Linked DNA regions of Homo sapiens: region 1 is linked to region 2. Evidence: promoter capture Hi-C in 16 types of primary human blood cells and fetal thymus (Javierre and others, 2016). All regions are on one chromosome and are shown on one strand. The core of a region is centred on a gene start or on the middle of the fragment in contact, and the rest is flanking DNA. Distances in the headings are between cores, read along the strand shown. Region 1 overlaps FOXP1 (forkhead box P1). Region 2 holds the start of FOXP1 (forkhead box P1).

Region 1 (4,056 bases), core at 82-2,581, 540 kb after region 2:
AAACATGTAAATGTCAAGTATAGGAATAGATAGAGAATTAATATTTTGAAGGCCTTTTTTTCCCTGAAGGTTTTATAATAGGAAATGGAGGGATATTTTGTGTTGTTTTTAAGGTTATTGTAGGGTCTTCTTTCTGTTTTACATAATTAGCCTATCTGCTTTTCACCCTGGTCTCTTTAATCATCTCATCCTCCCTAGCACCAGTAATTTCATATAGAAATATTCTTTCAGTCTTATTCTGACCTTTTAATTTTTAAAATGTAAACTCTAGGTAGCAGAAAATTACATGCTTGGCTATGTACCTGCTAATGGATTTGTTTAACTTCGTACTATTATTCTTAGTCTACCATTTTGGAAGAAATACATACTTTCTGGAAATTTGTTATCCATTTAGTCTGATGAGTGACTGGGTTACCTTTTATCTGTCTAACATGAGATCTTAGCTGTCAAATAACAACACCCTTTGGTAGGTAGCGCTCATTGAACTAACAGTTTAACATCACTAACGATATATGGCATTGATGGAGGAAAGCGATTTGACTGCTTCTGTGTTAAGTGTGATGAGAATGTTCTTAAAAGTAATTATCACATTGCAGTTTGACCCAGAAGTATCGCTGTTGTCACTTAATGAGTTACTATTTTTATTTACCATTTTTCTCTATGGATAATGGAACTGATTGCCAGCCCATTGGAATAGATGGGAGAGTAGAGTAACATTAATGCACCCTGTAGGTATAACAAGTGGTAAATACATTTGTCTTTGTCTTTATTTGCTGGATAAACAGCTTACTTTTAAAACAGCATCAAAGTTCTGCTTTTCTTCGAGAGAAAGCGGGAGTTAACACAGTTGTTAGGACCCTGTCCTAGTCTTCCCACCTCCCATGCAGCTGACCCAGAAATCATTTAGTTTGAGTTGAGAAATAGGTGGCTTGTTCTTTTCATGTGTTTACTCTCTAGAAAATAAAAATAGATGTTGACTTGTGTGGTTTTATATCAGTATGCCATCATCAACAGACAAGCCTATTAACTATTGTTTCCATTGAGTAAACAGTGGTCTGAGGGTCACCCATGTTCACAGGTAATTGTTGGTGTGCAGACAACAGTAGCGGGCCTGCTAGCTACAAACGCATCCCACCTGTCACTTCGAAAGGTGTTGGAAAATAATAGTTCAGATGCAGCAAAACCGGACATGGGGTTGTGGAGTGACCTTTCCCCTTTGTTTAATTTGCCTCTGAGGCTTAATTTCAGGGGACAAGTAATAATTGACTATGCCTAATAACTAAATGCTCATTTGGGACAAAATCCATCAAAATATAATTGGCATTTGATTTTTATGAAGGGAGAAGAAAACCGACTTGTCTGTCGAGGATGCCTCCTAAGAATATCTGACCACTTAATGTATCATTTGAAGCCTCCTTTATAATATATATTAATTGCAAATGCTTGAGCATTTGAACATTTTCGTGGAGAACCGTTAGGAGGGACCAACTGTTTTTGTTAACGCTCCTCTCAGAAAGGCGGGGAAGGTTATTGGTCTGCTGTGCAATAATTTACTCCTCTTTGATATGCAAACGATCCACGGTGAATATAAAAAAATCCTATCAGACTCATTTCACAGTTCTTAACCACTCGGATTCTCTGGAGTCCATCGCCTCATTAGACCAGTGCTCTCCAATGCTAGCATAATTAAAATCTTTAACAGTTTAGCAAAGTAAAGATGTTTGGCTGATCACGTTGAGATGATTATCTATCCATTGTATTCTAAATGACAAAAATAAATTAAATTTAGACCTTGGCATTTTTTATTATGTGTTTCAAATGAATATAATGCACACAGCCTTCTTTTTTAATTCGATACCTTAGGTTTGGTAAGAAACATGCCTGTTTCAGCTGCTGCTATATAGTCAGAAAATGGCAGGCTTTCTGGGATGGCTGTGTTACACTTGATTGAAACAATGAACTGCAATCCAGACGTCCACTTCTAATGTGGTATTGCCTTAGGATGTGCAGGGTTTATGTTTTCTTTTCGGTGTTCCTCCAAAGGAAGTTTTGTTGCTTGTTGTCGTTGTTGTTGTTTTTGTTAGTTGTCATCTAGAATATCTTTATTCTGTGCATGTGTGGGCTAGAATATGCATTGAGGTGGGATTTGGAAACCTGGGCTACAGAGGCATGCCAGCAGGATAAAGACGAAGAGGCCCACAATAGTGAGATTGGCATACTGATTGTATCTCTTCTTGGGGGAAAATACTGGATTCACTCCTTAAAACCCATGTCCATTTAGATCCCCTTTAAAAAAACAAGAGAACTTCATTACTGTAAGTTTATTTTACGTTTGCATTTTATTCTGCAATGGTTCATTACCATTGATCTAAGAAATGACAGTAATAATAGTGTTACTTGTATAAAAAGTTACACAGTTTTTCAGTAGACACATCCATCAATTAAGCATGTGGTACTAGAAACCAAAATTAATGAGGAAGATAGGTGTGTTAATGAAATAATCATAGTATAATCAATTTGACTGTTAAAAGTTGAAAAGCATTTCAGGAAGACGATATGAATTCATAATTTATGTCTAAAAGTGATTAATAAAAACTATATTTAATAACAAAGCTATTTGTCATCATTTAAGACTTAAGCACAAAAATTATTCATTTTGTAGTTCATGTTGTCATAATAGTATAGTTGAACAAATTTATTTTGAGCCCTTCTTTGTGTCTAAAACTAAGGTAACATCTATCTACTTTTCATCAAAATTGAGAAATAACACTTGGGATGGTTAGAGGCATACTGTTGTGGCAAAGTAACTGTGTTTTGAGTCACTTTCACCTGAGTCTTTTATGTGCGATGAGGGCAACTTCCACTCAGTTGCTCGGTAAGAGGACACACTTTTTACTACCGCATCTGCCGTAGTTGGGAGGGGAAAAAAAACTGCACACACCGAAAAACCCCCCTAACACTAGGCTTTGTTTACTGACTCTTTGATTTAATTGCTGTTTGAAGAGGACGGAATTAGCTGTTAATTGATTTAATTATCCAATTTGTTTGTTTCAGGCATGATTCCAACAGAACTGCAGCAGCTCTGGAAAGAAGTGACAAGTGCTCATACTGCAGAAGAAACCACAGGCAACAATCACAGCAGTTTGGATCTGACCACGACATGTGTCTCCTCCTCTGCACCTTCCAAGACCTCCTTAATAATGAACCCACATGCCTCTACCAATGGACAGCTCTCAGTCCACACTCCCAAAAGGGAAAGGTAGGAACCAGCCACTGAGATGGGTCCAAAACTGCCTTTAACATGAGAGGGGTGGGTGGCCCTGCCTCGTCATATCTCAGTGATCCCTAATTGGATCCATGTGACTTGAATGTGCATATAATTACTGAGGAATGTATTCAGTATGGTTTGGGTGTGAAGCATCTAATTATTTTCACCTTTTCAACATGGAATTAGCACTTATGTAGATCTACTCTCAGCTTAGGAACCCGGGCAGAAGTCGTGTAGTTTCTCATTGGATGGGTTGGATTTCCAGGCTTCCAGGCCTACTCCTTCTGCCAAGTGCTCACTCCGTACAAGCTGAATTCCTTGGCTGGAAGTGCCTTCTAAGGGAATAGTAGTGTCTGCTGTGGGCAATTTTGAATTATGGTTTGAGAAAACATAGAACTTATGTTACTCTACATTGCTCCCCTTGAAGGCTGGGCGCCCATGTTTTTCATCATTGTGCCCTGGAGCACATGGTCTTTCCCGTATGTATTCTGAGTGAAGGTTTGGAGGATGGAGAGACAGAAGAGGTAGTGGTGGTGGTGGCTGGTGGAGGTGGGGGATCTGTTGTATATACTCACATAAACAGACACAGCACACTTTCTCTTCATTGTGGGATATAGTGTAGTATTGTCTCAGCAGCTGTATTCCTATTTAGAAGTTAAGACATTTTATTTTTGAATTGCCCTGGGCTTTACATGAATGTTACTTGAAGCTGAGCTTGTTTTAGAGATCCAGAATATGCCATGTTAGCATGCAGTTCTAAGAAAATAAAGCTGTTAATTCATGTTATG
Region 2 (4,427 bases), core at 1,498-3,997:
AGGATTTCCTTTTGTCTGCAAAACTTGTTGCCAACCTGACTGTGGCCCCCACTTGCAAGTGAATGTAGAATTTAAGGCAGTTAAAATGCAGAATCAGATTAGCAGCAATCTAAAGATCTTTTTAGTATTGCGATGATAATAATTTTTAATAAACACACTGCTTAATCTGAAAAACAAGATCAGAGGATGAATTGTTCTTTACAGACTATGAATAGATCTGTTACATTTAAATAAGTCGTTATTCCCCTGAGTTATAATTCTACAGTCAGGCATATACCATAAACATGTTATATTTGGCATAAAGTACTTTAGAAATTAAAAACCATTTTTAATAGGTTGACCACTACAGAACCAGTAGACTGGCTACTTTGTAGATTTCCACTTAATTCCGTGTGAATTCAGCATATGGAATTTCCAGTGATGTCAAAGAGTTGTTGGCAGTATTAACTGAGTTGACATAAAGCTTTTAGTTCAGTGCCTAGATCATAGTATTTAATAAATGTTAGATGTTATTATTGACAGCTTAGACTGTGAGCTCCTCAAGGGCAGGAATTTTTATTTTTTCATCCCTCTGTGCCCACTCTGTGGTCTAGCACACAGTGGGTATGTCATTAATCCCTTTATGTCTTGACAAACAAGACGTCGAACCCTAGCCTCTAGGAAGCTAGGACATTCCATACAAACTAAAATGCATTTTATTGGTCTAGATTCTAGTCTAAAAGATTCAGTGAATAGTCTTATCTGGATAGCATGGAACTTTATGCAGCATGCATGCAATGTGAATTCTACCAGGCTGAAATTACCTTAGCAGCCTCCCTTTCTTTTATTCTGTAGCATCAGCGAATGGCTTTGTTATTTTTTTTTTTTAACTTGCGAAAGATACAATTTCAAAGCGATAGTCTTATGCCACCCTTGAAATTAAGATTTAAGTTCTTCTGTAAATTAATGTTTAACAATATTTGTAAAGGGGCATTACGCGAAAGAATTTAATAATAACCTTTTCAGGATATTATCTACAACTGTGCTGGTCTCAAGACCAAAGGGACAGTAAGCCTCTCCCCTCCCCGCAAGGGGAAGTACTTTGTAGGAATCCACAGGGGTGACTTTTAATATATTCTCATAAAGAATTGGCCTGGTGTACACCAGCCAGCCAGTAGCTGGAAATGCTGGTTTGGGAGTCTGGCCACTTCTGTGGTGGTGGGTCTGAAAAAATTTACTTCTGTTAACAACAACAACAACAACAACAACAAGACATAGAGGTCTTACAGCTTTCCAAGTCACGTTTTGGAAACACATACTCTGCTTCCTTCTCTATGCGTATTGATAAAAGTGAAAGAAATACTAGTGTCTTTTGTTTTATGTATGTATATTTCAAAACATTTAATTCAGGCTCTTAGTTTATTCCTTCGAATTTCTAAATTCAACCAAACTTCAAAAACCGCAAAAAGAAAAAAAAAAATCTCACCTTTTCAAAGAATTGGACAAAGCTTTTTGCACGTGACTGATCACTGGGAGAGCAGGTAATTTGTGTTAAACAACGGACTGACATGCTAGCCCCCAGGCGTTTTCCTAAGAGGAGTCGTGGCAAGAACACAGTTCCTGATGCAGCCACCTTCCCCCAAAGTGGACTCGATTGCACATTCCTGCAGTGGCTCTGACAAGGGGGCAGAAGCTCGTCCCACATTCACACTCTCCTGATTCCGAGAAACAGGGGAGAAAACCCCTCGCTGGCTGGCGGGGTTTCTGTTTCCTTGCAAACAGGGGTTTGTCCTTCTGCTGAACTTTCACCTCCCGAACTCGCCTTCTTTCATTGGACAAAGTGCAGAAAGAAAGAGGAGAGACCGAGGGAGGACGGGAGAGAGGGAGAAAGGGGGTTGAAAACACCACCTCCCACCCCGCTCTCCTTCAACTGTCACTGATGGCAAAACACTTTCACTTTTAACTGGAGGAAACTCACATTCTAGCCTGTCCTCTCCCCTCCCTTTCATATTTTTAGCTCAGAATCCAAGCAAATAGCCATCGCATTCCCATCTTCGTCCCTAGTTAACACTCTCCCTTCTCGTTTTTTCCGCTGTCTGAATGGGCCCCCCATTTCCCATCTCCTGAGGAATCTCCCCCTCCGCCCCCCTGCCCCTTATTTTCCAGGTCTTTCCTGCCAGATCCCTCTGTTGCCAGGGACTGCTCTGGCGTTCCCTTCCTCTCTCTGGTCCGCGGGGCTCTGCCTCCCTCTCCTCTTTCCAATCCTGCCTGGACGCCCCTCACTTCCCCCTCCCTGGATCCCTCCCCCCAACCCCCCCCCCCATTCTTTGGCAATTGCGATTTTTTTTTTCTGGGAGCCCGGTTGTTTACCCAGCAGGTGGATGTGACGTCAGGGACGCACAACAGCAAAAAATAACAACATCTCCCTCCGCGACGTGTTGGCCTCTCTCGCGCGCCTTATTTATTTATTTGTTCCGGGATGTCGGGGGGGAGGGGGGAGGGAGGAGGGGGGTGGGCGCCAGCGCCCCGGCGAACGGCAAAGAGGGAGCCGCTCCCGCTCGGGGGGCCGCTGGAGTGCCCAGCGGGGTGCGTGAAGCGGAGAGGGGACCCCTGCGGGAGGTAGAGGGTCGGGCCGGGGTGCGCCCCCGGGCCGGTGCTGCCCGCGCCTCTGCCGCCGCCGCCGCCGCCACCGGCGCTGGCTGGGCTCCGGGAAGCTAGTCCGGAGCGGAGGAATCTATTGTTATTTATTGTGTGGCGGTTGCACGCTGTACTCGCGGCGGCCCGGCCCTCGCCCGGGAGTGCGTGTGTGCGCGCGTGTGTGCGCGAGTGAGTGTGTGCGCGGGGTGCGCGCGCGGGCGGGAGTGGGCGCGCGCGGGGAAAGGCCCGAAAACACCTTAGTTTGCACCGAGAGACCATTTGCAGCGGGTGAGTTTGTATTTTTCCATTTCTGCTCCACTTTTTCCCAAGCCGCCTCCTGTCTTGTTTCCGCCACTTTAAACAACAACAACAACCAGCACAAAAAAAAAAAAAGAAAGAAAGAAAAAGAGAAAAAAAATGGAAAAAAAAAAACAACTACTTTCCACCTCCAGGCTCCACGTGCATCTCCCCCAGCCCTCCCCTCTCTTCCTCTCCCCCCCGGGTCGAGGCCCAGCTCTGGGATGGGTGGGGGCTGCGGGCCGGCGCGCGGGTGGAGGGAGCTCCGGCGGCGCCCGCACCCTTTGGGTTTATTTGCATAAGTCAAATGGGGGCGGGGGCGGTGGCGACTGTGAGGAGGCGAGATCGCCTGCCCGTAGGCCCCTTCACGCCTCTCTCTGCGCTCTCCACGATCGCCTAGGGGAGAGAAATCAATAAGCCCAGGCCGCCTGGCGCAACTTTCGATGTCCGGCGTTGGCGTCCGGTGGCCGCCCGGGCGCGGGGCCGGTGCGGGGTCCCGGGTCCTGGCCGCGGCGGGAGGGGGCGCGCGCCGGGCGCCTCCTAGGCCCAAAGTTTAGACTTGGAGCAAACTTTTCCCCTTCTTTCCCCGCGGGTGTGTGCCCCCTCGGTGCCCTTGAGCTGCCCCGCGGGCCCCAGCAAACTGACTGTGGTGCCTGGCCCTGGGCCCCGCACTGGGGAACTTCCCCGCTGCCACGCGCGCGTTACCCCGAGAGTCAGCGGCGAGGAAGCTCTCCCGCCACCCCCTCGGAGCCCGGAAAATTCAAACACGCACCTGCGCACCCCCAGCCAGACACGCACCCCTACGCGCGCTCGGCCTCCGCTTTCCCGAGACGAGTCCGCAACAGCCGTGGCCAGATCCACGGGTGGGTGCGGGAGCCGGATGCGCTGCGAGGAGTCGCCGCGCCCGGATCTCTCTCCCACCATCACACACATTTTCTGATTTTACCCCCCTCTGAAGCTTGGGGGACGGGGAGATTTCCCAAGCTCCGATTTGTCCTGCGTCGCGCGCGTGTCGCCTCGTCCCTCCGGCCCTGTCCTGGCGGCCGATGGCTCTCCGTCCCTCGCTTGCGCGCAGCCTTCCTCCCGAGCTCCCTGCGCTCTATTCCTGTCCCGCCGAGACGACTCCCTGGAGCCAGCGAGCCGAGGCGGCGTGCGCTTCGAGTGGGGACCACGGCGGTGGCGGCGGCGCCGGGAGCCGAGGAGTTTGCCAGTTGCCGCGGGGTCGCGGTCATTTGCTGCCTCCGCCTTCCCTCGCCCCCGCCTCCCGCCTCCCTCCTTTTCAGACAACGTCGCGCTCGGAAACTTAGATTCCTTCTTCTTTTTGGCCCTCGACGAGCCCCCCTCCCCACCTGTTGTGAGCTCCGCCTTGGTCCCGGGAGACTGGCAGTGACACACACGGGCTCTGGGGAGCTCCGCTCCCGGAAACAAAGTCGCATGCCCCCCTCCCATGTGTTTGCTTCGAAATCGCTGCCTGCAGCCCCCCATTCCCGCGCAGCTCCCGCCCCCTGTGAGAA

The links. Contacts are between HindIII fragments. The CHiCAGO score rates a contact against its expected background, and 5 or more counts as called.
Region 1: a contact is called between a fragment that was not itself captured here and the fragment with the promoter of FOXP1 in region 2, in 8 of 17 cell types (total B cells, non-activated CD4 T cells, neutrophils and 5 more). The highest score is 8.1, in total B cells.

Annotation. Positions count from the first base shown.
Region 1 is chr3:71,040,531-71,044,586 of GRCh38, reverse strand. It overlaps FOXP1 (forkhead box P1), which reads left to right. Exons shown (of 21, transcript NM_001349338.3): 11 at 3,055-3,259. Among named protein-coding and RNA genes, the nearest start is that of FOXP1-AS1, 250 kb to the left of the region's middle. The HindIII fragment of the contact is 8,522 bases long and covers 1-4,056 here.
Region 2 is chr3:71,582,048-71,586,474 of GRCh38, reverse strand. It overlaps FOXP1 (forkhead box P1), which reads left to right and starts at 2,747. Exons shown (of 21, transcript NM_001349338.3): 1 at 2,747-2,904. It overlaps FOXP1-DT (FOXP1 divergent transcript), which reads right to left and starts at 1,532. Exons shown (of 1, transcript NR_182289.1): 1 at 1-1,532. RefSeq lists an enhancer at 2,263-2,557 and a silencer at 2,635-2,874. The HindIII fragment of the contact is 2,384 bases long and covers 1,490-3,873 here.